4 separate regions of the Homo sapiens genome follow, and regions 1, 3 and 4 are each linked to region 2. Evidence: promoter capture Hi-C in 16 types of primary human blood cells and fetal thymus (Javierre and others, 2016). All regions are on one chromosome and are shown on one strand. Each heading gives the region's core, a stretch centred on a gene start or on the middle of the fragment in contact. The rest is flanking DNA. Distances are from core to core; before and after follow the strand shown. Region 1 overlaps MECR (mitochondrial trans-2-enoyl-CoA reductase). Region 2 holds the start of CDCA8 (cell division cycle associated 8). Region 3 holds the start of MATN1-AS1 (MATN1 antisense RNA 1). Region 4 overlaps DPH2 (diphthamide biosynthesis 2).

Evidence for each region. Contacts are between HindIII fragments. The CHiCAGO score rates a contact against its expected background, and 5 or more counts as called.
Region 1: a contact is called between a fragment that was not itself captured here and the fragment with the promoter of CDCA8 in region 2, in 4 of 17 cell types (naive CD8 T cells, total CD8 T cells, naive CD4 T cells and 1 more). The highest score is 7.6, in naive CD8 T cells.
Region 3: a contact is called between the fragment with the promoter of MATN1-AS1 here and the fragment with the promoter of CDCA8 in region 2, in 2 of 17 cell types (total CD4 T cells and activated CD4 T cells). The highest score is 6.1, in total CD4 T cells.
Region 4: a fragment that was not itself captured here is called in contact with the fragment with the promoter of CDCA8 in region 2 in 6 of 17 cell types (naive CD8 T cells, fetal thymus, naive CD4 T cells and 3 more); the score reaches 14.0 in naive CD8 T cells.

What each region holds. Positions count from the first base shown.
Region 1 is chr1:29,225,544-29,228,243 of GRCh38, forward strand. The region is part of intron 1 of MECR (mitochondrial trans-2-enoyl-CoA reductase); the gene reads right to left. Among named protein-coding and RNA genes, the nearest start is that of MECR, 4.0 kb to the right of the region's middle. The HindIII fragment of the contact is 3,518 bases long and covers 1-2,700 here.
Region 2 is chr1:37,691,199-37,693,898 of GRCh38, forward strand. CDCA8 (cell division cycle associated 8) reads left to right here and starts at 1,318. Exons shown (of 10, transcript NM_001256875.2): 1 at 1,318-1,586; 2 at 1,707-1,835. The coding sequence starts at 1,493. It also overlaps a transcript of AIRIM not described here. RefSeq lists enhancers at 59-569, 570-1,079, 852-1,041, 1,080-1,590, 1,591-2,099 and silencers at 372-431, 452-621. The HindIII fragment of the contact is 4,527 bases long and covers 1-2,700 here.
Region 3 is chr1:30,717,413-30,720,112 of GRCh38, forward strand. MATN1-AS1 (MATN1 antisense RNA 1) reads left to right here and starts at 1,360. Exons shown (of 4, transcript NR_034182.1): 1 at 1,360-2,153. It overlaps MATN1 (matrilin 1), which reads right to left. Exons shown (of 8, transcript NM_002379.3): 3 at 1,323-1,545. RefSeq lists silencers at 583-762, 803-1,322, 1,883-1,972 and enhancers at 1,383-1,552, 1,650-2,225. The HindIII fragment of the contact is 4,958 bases long and covers 1-2,700 here.
Region 4 is chr1:43,972,011-43,974,710 of GRCh38, forward strand. It overlaps DPH2 (diphthamide biosynthesis 2), which reads left to right. Exons shown (of 6, transcript NM_001384.5): 4 at 1-60; 5 at 148-324; 6 at 405-1,359. The coding sequence ends at 529. LOC124904167 (a long non-coding RNA gene) reads right to left here. Exons shown (of 2, transcript XR_007066053.1): 1 at 2,433-2,700; 2 at 1,355-1,877. Among named protein-coding and RNA genes, the nearest start is that of ATP6V0B, 1.6 kb to the right of the region's middle. RefSeq lists enhancers at 1-872, 2,103-2,700, 2,519-2,638, 2,689-2,700. The HindIII fragment of the contact is 2,166 bases long and covers 270-2,435 here.

The DNA.
Region 1 (2,700 bases), core at 125-2,624, 8.5 Mb before region 2:
GCAACGACCACAACAGATTCAACTCTGTACCCTCAGTGCCTTGCACTCAGTAAACTCTCAAAGAATACATGCTGGCCAACTTACTATATCAATGCCTTCTGTTCCCACTCCATTCATGACCACAATAAAGAGCTCTAAACAGAGCACCAAACCCAAAATGCTATTTTTTCCCCAAAGTACTAAAATGTGGGTTTAAAAATCAAGTCACCTGCAGTTTTGCTTTATATTAACTGTAAAAAGAAGAAATTCCTGAGAGTAAACAGTGCCCTATAGTGAGAATGGACAGACTGGGGCCCCACTACCTGCTCCTCCAAAGTCCATCTGGCTTAAGACAGAATGGGTAGGCCGGGTGCCGTGGCTCATGCCTGTAATCCCAGCAATTTGGGAGGCTGAGGCAGGTGGATCACCTGAGGTCAAGAGTTCAAGACCAGCCTGGCCAACATGGCGAAACCCTGTCTTCACTAAAAATACAAAAATTAGCTGGGTGTGGTGGCACGCGCCTGTAATCCCAGCTACTCAGGAGGCTGAGGCAGGAGAATCACTTGAACCTGGGAGGTGGAGGTTGCAGTGAGCCGAGATTGCACCACTGCACTCCAGCCTGGGGGACAGAGCCAGGCTCTATCTAAAAAAAAAAAAAAAAAAAAAAAAAAAAGACAGAACGGGTATATGTCCACGGGTTTCCAGCTCCAGCTTAGTTTCATTGTTGTACTAGCAGCAGGCAGGTGAGAAAGCCAAGATGATCAGGATGCTGTTTTACAAAAGCCTCGGGATCCTGAAAAGGGGAGGAGACAGAGAATGGTATTTCTAAACTTTCCCAGGATTGGGGCTGCCCTTTCTACAGCGTAGAAATTTGGGGTTACCTGAATGACCTACAATTTCACCTTCTCTTCTGACCTTTTTCCCAATTTTATAGTCCATCTCATTCTCAAAAATCATTTGAGACTTTGGGAGGTTGAGGCAGAAGGATCGCTTGAGCTGAGGTGTTTGAGATCATCTTGGGCAACATGGTGAAACCCCATCTATATTTTTTATTTAAAATATTTAAAAAAGTTTATTTGAAGAAATCATTTGAGGTGACTGCTGTTGTTTCCTCAGGCCTATGTCTATATCAAGGACTTTTAATAAAGAAGGGGCATCCTAGCTGTAAGATCTCGGATAAGTGCCTTTCAATCTACTTGAGCTTCAATTTCCTTATCTGTAAAGTGGAAGTAATAATAACCAAACTGGAGTGTTTTGATTTTAAAACCCCGTAATATACAGGGAGCATTTAGTCCAATGCTTGCTATACAGCAGGTATACAATAAATGAAAGCTGTTTTCACCAGAAGATCCAGAGAATGGCAAAGTTCTGAGCGGACTTTCAGGAAAAAAAGAAGGCAAGAGAAGAACTAAGCGTTTCTGGGAACTATCTTTTTTTTTTTTTTTTTTTTTTTTGAGACACAGCCTCACTCTGTCGCTGAGGCTGGAGTGCAGTGGTGTGGTGCAATCTCAGCTCACTGCAACCTCTGCCTCCTGGGTTCAAGCGATTCTCCTGCCTCGGTCTCCCGAGTAGCTAGGATTACAGGCATGCACCACTGTGCCCGACTAATTTTTGTATTTTTAGTAGAGACAGGGTTTCGACATGTGGCCAGGCTGGTCTCGAGCACCTGACCTCTGGTGATCCGCCCGCCTCGGCCTCCCAAAGTGCTGGGATTACAGGCATGAGCCACCATGCCTGGCCCCTGGGTTTCTGGGAACTATCTGATAGGGAATCTAGAACTCTGCACAAGGGACAGTGGCTATGGAGAACTCTGAAATTTCTCAAATGTTTGTCATTCTTCTGCACAGTCTTACTTTACTTAGATCTACAGTTTAATCTTTTAAATAAAAAAGGCCCAAATACTTATTTAGGGAATCCCATTTTGGAAGAAAGGGAAAGAAACTAAGCAACAGGGGAAAATGGCTTAGGAGAGAACAGCTGCAATGTTTGGAGGCCAACAGGAATGAAAACAGGGACGTGAGAACAGGAGAAACCTGGAGGCCTCCTTTTGAGGATTCAGACCTGAGAAGGCTGTTCCTCATTCCTTCCCTCCTGCTTGCAGAGGTGTGGCCCACAGCGCAAGCATCACAAACCACACTAGTTCTGACAATGCTCTGTTCAGACTCTAGGTAGTCCCATGACCCCTACCTGGTGTAACCTGACCCAGACAGCCAGTTACCAGGATGTGTAAAGGACACCTGATTCTTTCTGTGACAGTGTGGTTACCCTAAACCTTGTAAGACATGACTACAAAGAGAATCCCAGTCTCTGGCTTCAGTCCATACGAGAACAAGTAAAGCCGCCTGAATCTGGGTCAGAAAGTAAAGTTGCCCTTCTGGAGCACGGAGAGAATTACTGCTTGTCTGACAATCTGTATCCACAAGGCAGTGGTTCTCAAGCCTGGCCTGGGCAGCAGAGTCACCTGGAGAGCTTTGAAAAAAACAGAAGCTCCAAGCCATCCTAGACCTACTAAGTACCTCAGGAGTGGGGCCTAGGAATACATACGGTAGTTTCTAAAAGCACTACAGGTCAAGCTGGGTGTGGTGGTACACACCTGCAATCCCTGCTACTCAGGAGGCTGAGGTGGGAGGATCCCTTGAGCCCAGGAGTTCAAGACCAGCCTGGGCAACATGGCATGATCTCATCTCAAAATAAATAAATAAATAAATAAATATATATATA
Region 2 (2,700 bases), core at 68-2,567:
GAAAGGACTTTCCAGGAAGGTCCAGGCTTGCCAGGACTTCTATGCTTGGACTGCTCTGTCCCCAAGCTCGCTGGTGCCCATCAGGAGCCTGCTTGGCACCTTTGCTTATTTCTTCGATTGTTCCTCAACTCAGAGGGGGAGAGGCAAGATTATCACTCCCATAGCCTATAACATGCACGCTTAAACACAACCCCTCTGACATGGCTTCAGACCGCATCCACAGGTGAAAAGCACCAAATCCAAACAATCAGGCCACAAACCCGTCAAGAGCTCGCCGGTCTGGCCGTCCAGTCGCCGCCCGCCTTGAGACTCAGCCTGAGCTACAGCTTCGAAACTAGCCTCTAGCCTTCTGGGTCTCAGCACAACTCTTGAGCAATCCAACCCTGTGGCCGTGGGCAGATACCAAGATGCACAGTTAGCACCTCCGACAGGACCGCGGCTCGGCGGGGCTCGCCGTCTACACGCCCATTCCCAGGCCCACGGCCACGACACCCAGAGCTGCCTCCTGCCCTGGGCTCCCTGGAGCCTGGTGGCCGCGGCTCATGCTGCAGTCACCGTGTGGCCAGCTGCCAAGCGCCACTACTTGCACCTGAAGTCGCAGCCCCGCGCTGCGCACCCAGTCGAGGCGCCAACACGCGAACTGGGCGGGAGTGGCCGGCCCGCGGGGGAGCGAGGAACGACAGGGTTCCCCCCACTCGCTGCCCAGACTGGCCGCGGGATAGCGCGCCCCCCCCAAAGCCTGCACCCCTGCCCTGCTCCTCTATCATTCCGTCCCCCTTGCTCTGTCAAACCCTGCCGGGGCTGCTCTGTCTCTGCCGACCCGCCACTTGCCCGAAGTTCGGCCTGAGGAGCTTGGGGCCCTGAGGAGCGCCGACGTAGGCAGCCAGCCAGTCAATCAGTCAGAGGGTCACGGCGGCCCCTCGGCTACTCAGTGGCAGCCAGGCCAGAAAGAAGCAGCCGCCAACCCTGGAGCAGAATCCTACAGCCGACCTGACCTAGTAGGCCCCCAGCCCTCCAGAGCTTGGGGTATTGCAGAGCCGCCACAAGGCCTGCCGGGAGTAGTAGTTTGTATAGTTCGCAGCCGGCCAGGGCGGAGCCGGGTGGGTTGGTGGGGAGGGCGGGGAAACAAGCCTGGACCACAACTCCCAGGAGTACCCGCGACGGCGGCGGCCTCGCTGTCGCACTCAGGCTATAGGGGGCGCATTGGGCGGAAGACCCTGGGCCGGCAGGAACTTGCTTGTGATTGGATGTTGTGGGACGGCGGCTTCTCATTCGTCAGCCTGTGACTGTGGAGTTTGAATTGGGTGGCGGTTGACTGTAGAGCCGCTCTCTCTCACTGGCACAGCGAGGTTTTGCTCAGCCCTTGTCTCGGGACCGCAGGTACGTGCCTGGCGACTTCTTCGGGTGGTCCCCGTCCGCCCTCCTCGTCCCTACCCAGTTTCTTGCTTCCCTGCCCCATCTCCGCCGCTCCCCGCAGCCTCCGCCGAGCGCCATGGCTCCTAGGAAGGGCAGTAGTCGGGTGGCCAAGACCAACTCCTTACGGAGGCGGAAGCTCGCCTCCTTTCTGAAAGACTTCGACCGTGAAGGTAAGGGGCCAGGCCGTCGCGGCCTCCTGGGGCGGTCGCGGGATGCTGGCGGGTGGGGACACGAGCTGCACAGATTCGCCCGCCCGTGACCCGTGTCCTGTCGGCTCTGCCCTCCCGCAGTGGAAATACGAATCAAGCAAATTGAGTCAGACAGGCAGAACCTCCTCAAGGAGGTGGATAACCTCTACAACATCGAGATCCTGCGGCTCCCCAAGGCTCTGCGCGAGATGAACTGGCTTGACTACTTCGGTAAGAGCTGGAGAGCTTCCCTGGGCGGAGGCCAGGAGCCCCTTGGGGTTAGGTGACACCCTTCAGAAAGGGCTCGCTCAGATGTCACCTTTTAATGAGATCTGACATGACCACTTATGGAAAATTGCAGACCCTTTCACTCTCTGTCTCACTTCCCTACTTCATTTTTCTCTATGAAAAATGGGGGGGTGGTTGGGGGGCGGCGGGCGGGGCGGTCTCTGTCGGACAACTCAGCTCTGCTGTTTACAGGTCCAAAACAGCTGTAGTGAATGGGCATGGATGGGCTGTATTCCAATAAAATTTTAGTTATGGATACACTGAAATGTGAATTTCACATAATTTTCACACATCAGGAAATTTATTTAATTTTTTTTAAACAGAGTCTCACTCTGTCACCCAGGCTGGAGTGCAGTGCAGTGCAGTGGTGCGATCCCTGCTCACTGCAACCTCCACCTTCTGGGTTCAAGTGATTCTCCTGCCTCAGCCTCTGGAGTGGCTGGGATTACGGTCGCCTGCCACCATGCCCCGCTGATTTTTGTATTTTCAGTAGAGACGGGGTTTCACCATGTTGGCCAGGCTGGTCTCGAACTCCTGACCTCAAGTGATCCACCTACATAGGCCTCCCAAAGTGCTGGGATTACAGGAGTCAGCCACTGCGCCCGGCCAGAAAATAGTATTTTTAAAAATATATGTATATTTTACCCATTTAAAAATGAATGAATAAATGACATGGTTAGTTAACCAGAGCTCAGATAGAAGAATAACCCGAAGCAGCTCCTTCTGCAGCTTATGGAAATTGCTAACCTAAAAATGGGCGCATCAGGCTGGGCGTGGTGGCTCACGCCTGTAATCCCAGCACTTTGGG
Region 3 (2,700 bases), core at 110-2,609, 7.0 Mb before region 2:
CAAAGACCCACACACACACCTCCCCTCCGAGAAGGGCTCTGAACCTTCTCCTGCCAGTGCCCAGGCCTCTCAGACTCTCCCGCATCACAGAAAACTCTGGCACCCAAAACTCACGACACAGAAACATGTGTAGGTTTTCTGGGAGCTCTCCTTCCTGAGCTCTGGGCCCTCCTTGGTCCCTGCCAGGATTCTGCCACATAAAAGGGCTCTGTTGTTTTTTGTGTGTGCGGTTTTTTTTTTTGTTTTGTTTTTTTTTTGAGACGGAGTCGTCTCGCTCTGTCGCCCAGGCTGGAGTGCAGTGGCACGATCTCGGCTCACTGCAAGCTCCGCTTCCCGGGTTCACGCCGTTTTCCTGGCGCAGCCTCCCGAGTAGCTGGGACTACAGGCGCCCGCAACAACGCCCGGCTAATTTTTTGTATTTTTAGTAGAGACCGGTTTCACCATGTTGGCCAGGATGGTCTCGATCTCCTGACTTCGTGATCCGCCCGCCTCGGCCTCTCAAAGTGCTGGGATTACAGGCGTGAGCCACCGCGCCCGGCCATAAAAGGACTCTTAACATCGCCTCTCCCCAACTCCCTTAACCTGGGGCTGGAGACCCTCCTCCGTTATCAGGCTCCGCCCCAGCTACGGCCCCACCCCTGGTGCTGGCACCACCTCAGTCTAATCCAGGTTCCACCCCCAATCCACCTAAGCCGTGTCCCTAGCCCTGGCCCCGCCCTGATGTTGCCGTGTAACTCAGTTCCCGCCGTTTTATAGGCTACCGCCCCAGCCAGGCCCCGCCCTCTGATGTGGCCCCGCCCCCCGACGCTGACTTTTTCTGTCTTCACTTTAGCGCTGGCTCCGCCCCTAGCCTTGGCCCGCCTCAGCGCGGACTCTCAGTCTCTGCGCCTGCCACGGCCTCGTCCCGCTCAGCCCTGGCCCTGCCCCTGGAGCCGACTCTCTCCGCCTCCGCCCCGGTCCCGCCCTGGCACTGACTGTCTCCGTCTTCGCCCCTGCCCTGGCCCCGCCCCCTGCCTGCTCTGGCCCCGCCCCGCCGCTCTCTCCGTCTCCGCCCCTGCCCTGGCCCCACCCTTGCCCCGCCCCGGCGCTGACTCTCTCCGTCTCCGCCTCCGCCCCCGGCTCCTCCCCGGCCCCGCCCCGGCACTGACATTCTATCTCTCTCCCGTCTCCGCCTCTGCCCCCCCCCCGGCCCCGCCCCTGCCCTGCGCCGGCGCTGGCTCCGTCTGCGCCTCAGCCTCGGTCCCGCCTCCAGCCCTGGCCCCGCCCCGCCGCTCTCCCCTTCTCCGCCCCTGCCCTGGCTCCGCCCCCGCCTGCCCGCGCACCGCAGAAGGCCTCCTGGAACTTCCTGGACAGCTTCTCGATGACGCTGTAGCTCTCCACGTAATCGACGTGTTCGTCCTGCGGCTCGCTGGCGATCTGCCGCAGCGTGGCCTTGTCCACGCTGCCCACTCCGATGGCGAACAGCTCGACGCCGCTGGCCCGGGCCCGCGCAGACACGTCCTGCACGCTGTCCTGGGGCCTCCCGTCTGTCACCACGATGACCACCTGCGACACGCGGGGCGGTGTGACACCGGGCTCCCGGAAGCCCACGGGACTGTCCAGGAGAGGAGGCTGAGGCCCGGAGAGGCGGGAGGACTGCCGGGTCGCACAGCCAGGCGGCACCCGGGGGAAGAGGACCCGGCTGGCCGAAGAGGAGACCCGTTTCCTCTGACTGAGAGACGTGGCTGGGGGGCTTTCCATCTGCTTCGCCTCCCTCGGGCAGGCAGCTCTGAGATGCCCGGAGGGATGTGATGCCCCATCGCCAAATTGGGGTCTCTAAGGTCAGGGCCATGCCTTCCCCTCAGACTGAGGCGGCTGAGGGCAGGGTCCTCAGGCTGATGGCTGTGGGAGTCGTGCCACGCCCCTCGTGCCCCCGGGAGGCCCGGCCGGGGCTGGGTGGGGGGATCCGGTGGTTCCACATGGTGCAGTTCTGCGCTTTGGCCACCAGATGGCAGCCGAAGCTAAGGGATGGGGCTGCCGTCTCCCGTCTTGCTGTCCTTGTCCCGGTAAGACCGGGGACCCTGGACCAGGGAACCGACGGAGGGCCACTCCCATGTGGATGCCCAAGGGACCAACCCAAGAAAGATGCCGCCCTTATCCTCCTCCACTCCCCGGTATGATACATGCCCCTGCCAGAGAGGGAAAGAATCTGCCTGCTCCCCTCCCACTAGGCTCCTCTGGTCTGTACCCTGGAAAGAAAGAGGTGGCGGACTCTGTCACTGAGATCCGGCTTCGTGACCCCCTGTCTGCACCCGCCCTGAGGCTAGGGCGCTCCCAGCTCTGCCCAGTCTGGGTTAGGCATCCAGTCCCGCTTTGCTGCTTCTCTGCTTCTGACTTGGGTCTGTTTCTGATTCCTGGGTCCCATCCTTAGCCCCAGGTCCTGACACCCTGTCCTGATGACAGGCAGTTGAGACAGGCCGTGTTTAGAAATGCAGCTCCACAAGCTACAGGTCACCTTCCTGAGCCTCAGTGTCTTCAACTGTAAAAAGGGTTGTGGTGAGGTTGAGTGAGATGACTCCTGGTTAGAAGCCAGAAGGGGCAACTATTATTTTTACCATCATTACCCTGGGCTACCTGGGGAGTGACTTTGTACAATCTCTTCCTCTCCAGGGGCCTGGGCTCCTGGCTCTGAAAATCTAGCTGTGACTATTCGCTGCCATC
Region 4 (2,700 bases), core at 103-2,602, 6.3 Mb after region 2:
CTGCCTGGCCACCTCCAGGCCTGGCTCCCCACCTCACACATTATGCGGACTTATTGCCTGGTGAGTAGTGGGGGCATTGCCTAAGCTGGAAACCTGGGGCACGGAGTCAGGGGGTGAGTATGGATTTTCTTTCCTCCTCCCTTTCAGGCTCTCCCTTCCACGTGGCTCTCCCACCACCTGAGTCAGAGCTGTGGGAAACCCCAGACGTGTCACTCATTACTGGAGATCTCCGACCCCCACCTGCCTGGAAGTCATCAAATGATCATGGAAGCTTGGCTCTGACCCCACGGCCCCAGCTGGAGCTGGCTGAGAGCAGTCCTGCAGGTAAATGTACAAGTCTCCACTCCCAGCTGAGCTTTTTCTCCAGATGCAGCGCACTCAGACTGAGCCCCCTCCCTCTACAGCCTCATTCCTTAGTTCCCGGAGCTGGCAAGGGCTGGAGCCCCGCCTGGGTCAGACGCCAGTGACAGAAGCTGTGAGTGGAAGACGAGGGATTGCCATCGCCTATGAGGATGAGGGAAGCGGCTGATACCATGTGGGGCTGGAGACATAGATGGACTTATGAATGGCTGCTAGGACCTTTAGTGCTCCCTGCACCAACCTCCCATCCCCCTGCCAAGATCCTTGAAGGACCCTGGAAGGAGGGAGAGCAGGCAGCCCTTCACAGGATAGGATCCGTCTCTGTCCTGTCCTGGCACTGGCACAAGCTCAGCACATGCCCAGTAATGCGTGTTGTTTGGCTGATGGAATAAAGGGCTTAGGGACTTCCCTGAGGCCTCTGGACCCATCTGTCTTCCTGAGGGCAGCCCAGGACCTTTGGCCAATCCCAGTTCCCAGGCTGCAGTTGAGGGTCTGTCCTTGTCAAAAGGCAGGTGCTAGACAGTCTAGACCAGGGTTTCTCAAACTCGTACTTGACATTTGGGGCCAGATAATTCTTTGTTGTGGGGCTGTCTGGTGTATGGTAGGGTGCTCAGCAGCATCCCTGGCCTCTGCCCACTAGACATCAGAAGCACTCCCCCAGTTGTGACAACCAAAAATATCTCCAGACCTTGGCAAATGTTATCTGTGGGGGAAAATTGCCCTCAATTGAGAACCACTGGTCTAGCTAGACCTGCACTGTCCAGTACAGTAGCCACTAAATACATGTGGCTAAACTTAAATTTAAGTTAATTAAGATTAAAAGCTCAGTTTCTCAGTCACATTAGTCATTCAAGTGTTCAGACAGCCACATGAGGGGACAGTGCAGCTACAGGATATGCCATCATGGCAGAAAGTTCTATTGGTTGGACAGCGTTGGTCTATACTGACTCTTATTTCTCAGGGAGATCACAGCAACCTAAATAAACCAGATACCTTTTCTCTTTGTGTTTCTTTTTAATTCATGAAATACTGCAGGTCCTGCACTGGTCCTGGGATGTAGATGTTAACTGTATTTAACCAGATTCCTTTCCAGTGTACCTGGAAAGAGAGTTAAATACGCAGTCAGTACACAGTGAAACAGCTCTATCTGGGAGGAGGGAAGCCCCAGGGACAGCTGGATCCCACAGGAGATACCTGACAAGGACTAAGAGGAGGCTTCCCAGAGGGCATAACACCTATGCTGGATCTTTTGGAGGAAAAAATAATTGTCAGGAGAAAAGGAGTGAAAAAGACCTTTGGGCTTAAACATGAACCAACATGGCGGATGCTTCAAGCAAGTGGGGTTGCTGGGCCCTAAAGGTGGAGAGGGGTGAAATGAAAAGACTCGCCTCTTCTTCCCCACATTTGTTGAGAATCTGGTCACAGTGGCATTGTCGAGGGTATTGAAGGTGAACAAAGGAGATGTGGTCCCTGCCCTCAGGGAATGCCTAGTCTAATGGTGGAGGCAGAGCTGTAAGCTAACAAGGTAACCCAGACAAAGTGGGCATCAGTCATGTGTTCTACAAATATGTACTGAGGACACACTCTGTGCCAGGTACTGGAAATACAGCAGTGAGCGACACAAAAGCCATGGTGCTTCCACTCTTCCAGGGGAGTTGGACAAATAAAATACTTAGTATGCCAAATGGTGATCAGTAAGTACCGTGAGAAATGTAAAGCTGGGAAGCAGAGGAGCGTTTAAGTGGGGTGGAATATTAAACAGAATGGTCAGAGAAGGCCTTTTCAAGAAGGTGAGCAAAAACTGAAAGGAAGTTACAGGATGAGCCGCATGTATAGTTAGGAGAAGCAGAGAGAGCAAGTGCAAGGGCAGTGAGGTCGCGGTATGGTTGGCACGTTCAAAGAAATAGCAAGGAGGGCAGTGCAGCCAGAGGAGGGAGTTAGTGGGGGAATATTAGAAGGTGAAGTCAGCTGAGGGGCGTGGGGAGCCTAGCAGGCTATTGTGAGAACTTTGGCTTTTCTCCTGAATGAAATGGGAGCCATCAGGGCATTTCGACAGGGTAGTGACATCTTACTGAAGCTTAATAAGCATCACCAGGACATCGCGGGAGCCCAGCAAACGCGCTTCCCTGCCACTGGGTTAGGGAAGGCTTGCCGGAAGGACGATTTCGGAGGACAGCAGGTGTTAGCCAGGCAGCGGAGCGAGCGCCAACAGGCGCACTGGGGCGGAGAGACGCCGTGAGCAAGGTGAGGCAGAGGGCACGCGCGGCGCCACCCGCCACAGGCTAGGACGCACGGCTGCCAGAGAGGACGCCTTAGGGGCCCGCGAGCAGGCTCGGGAAT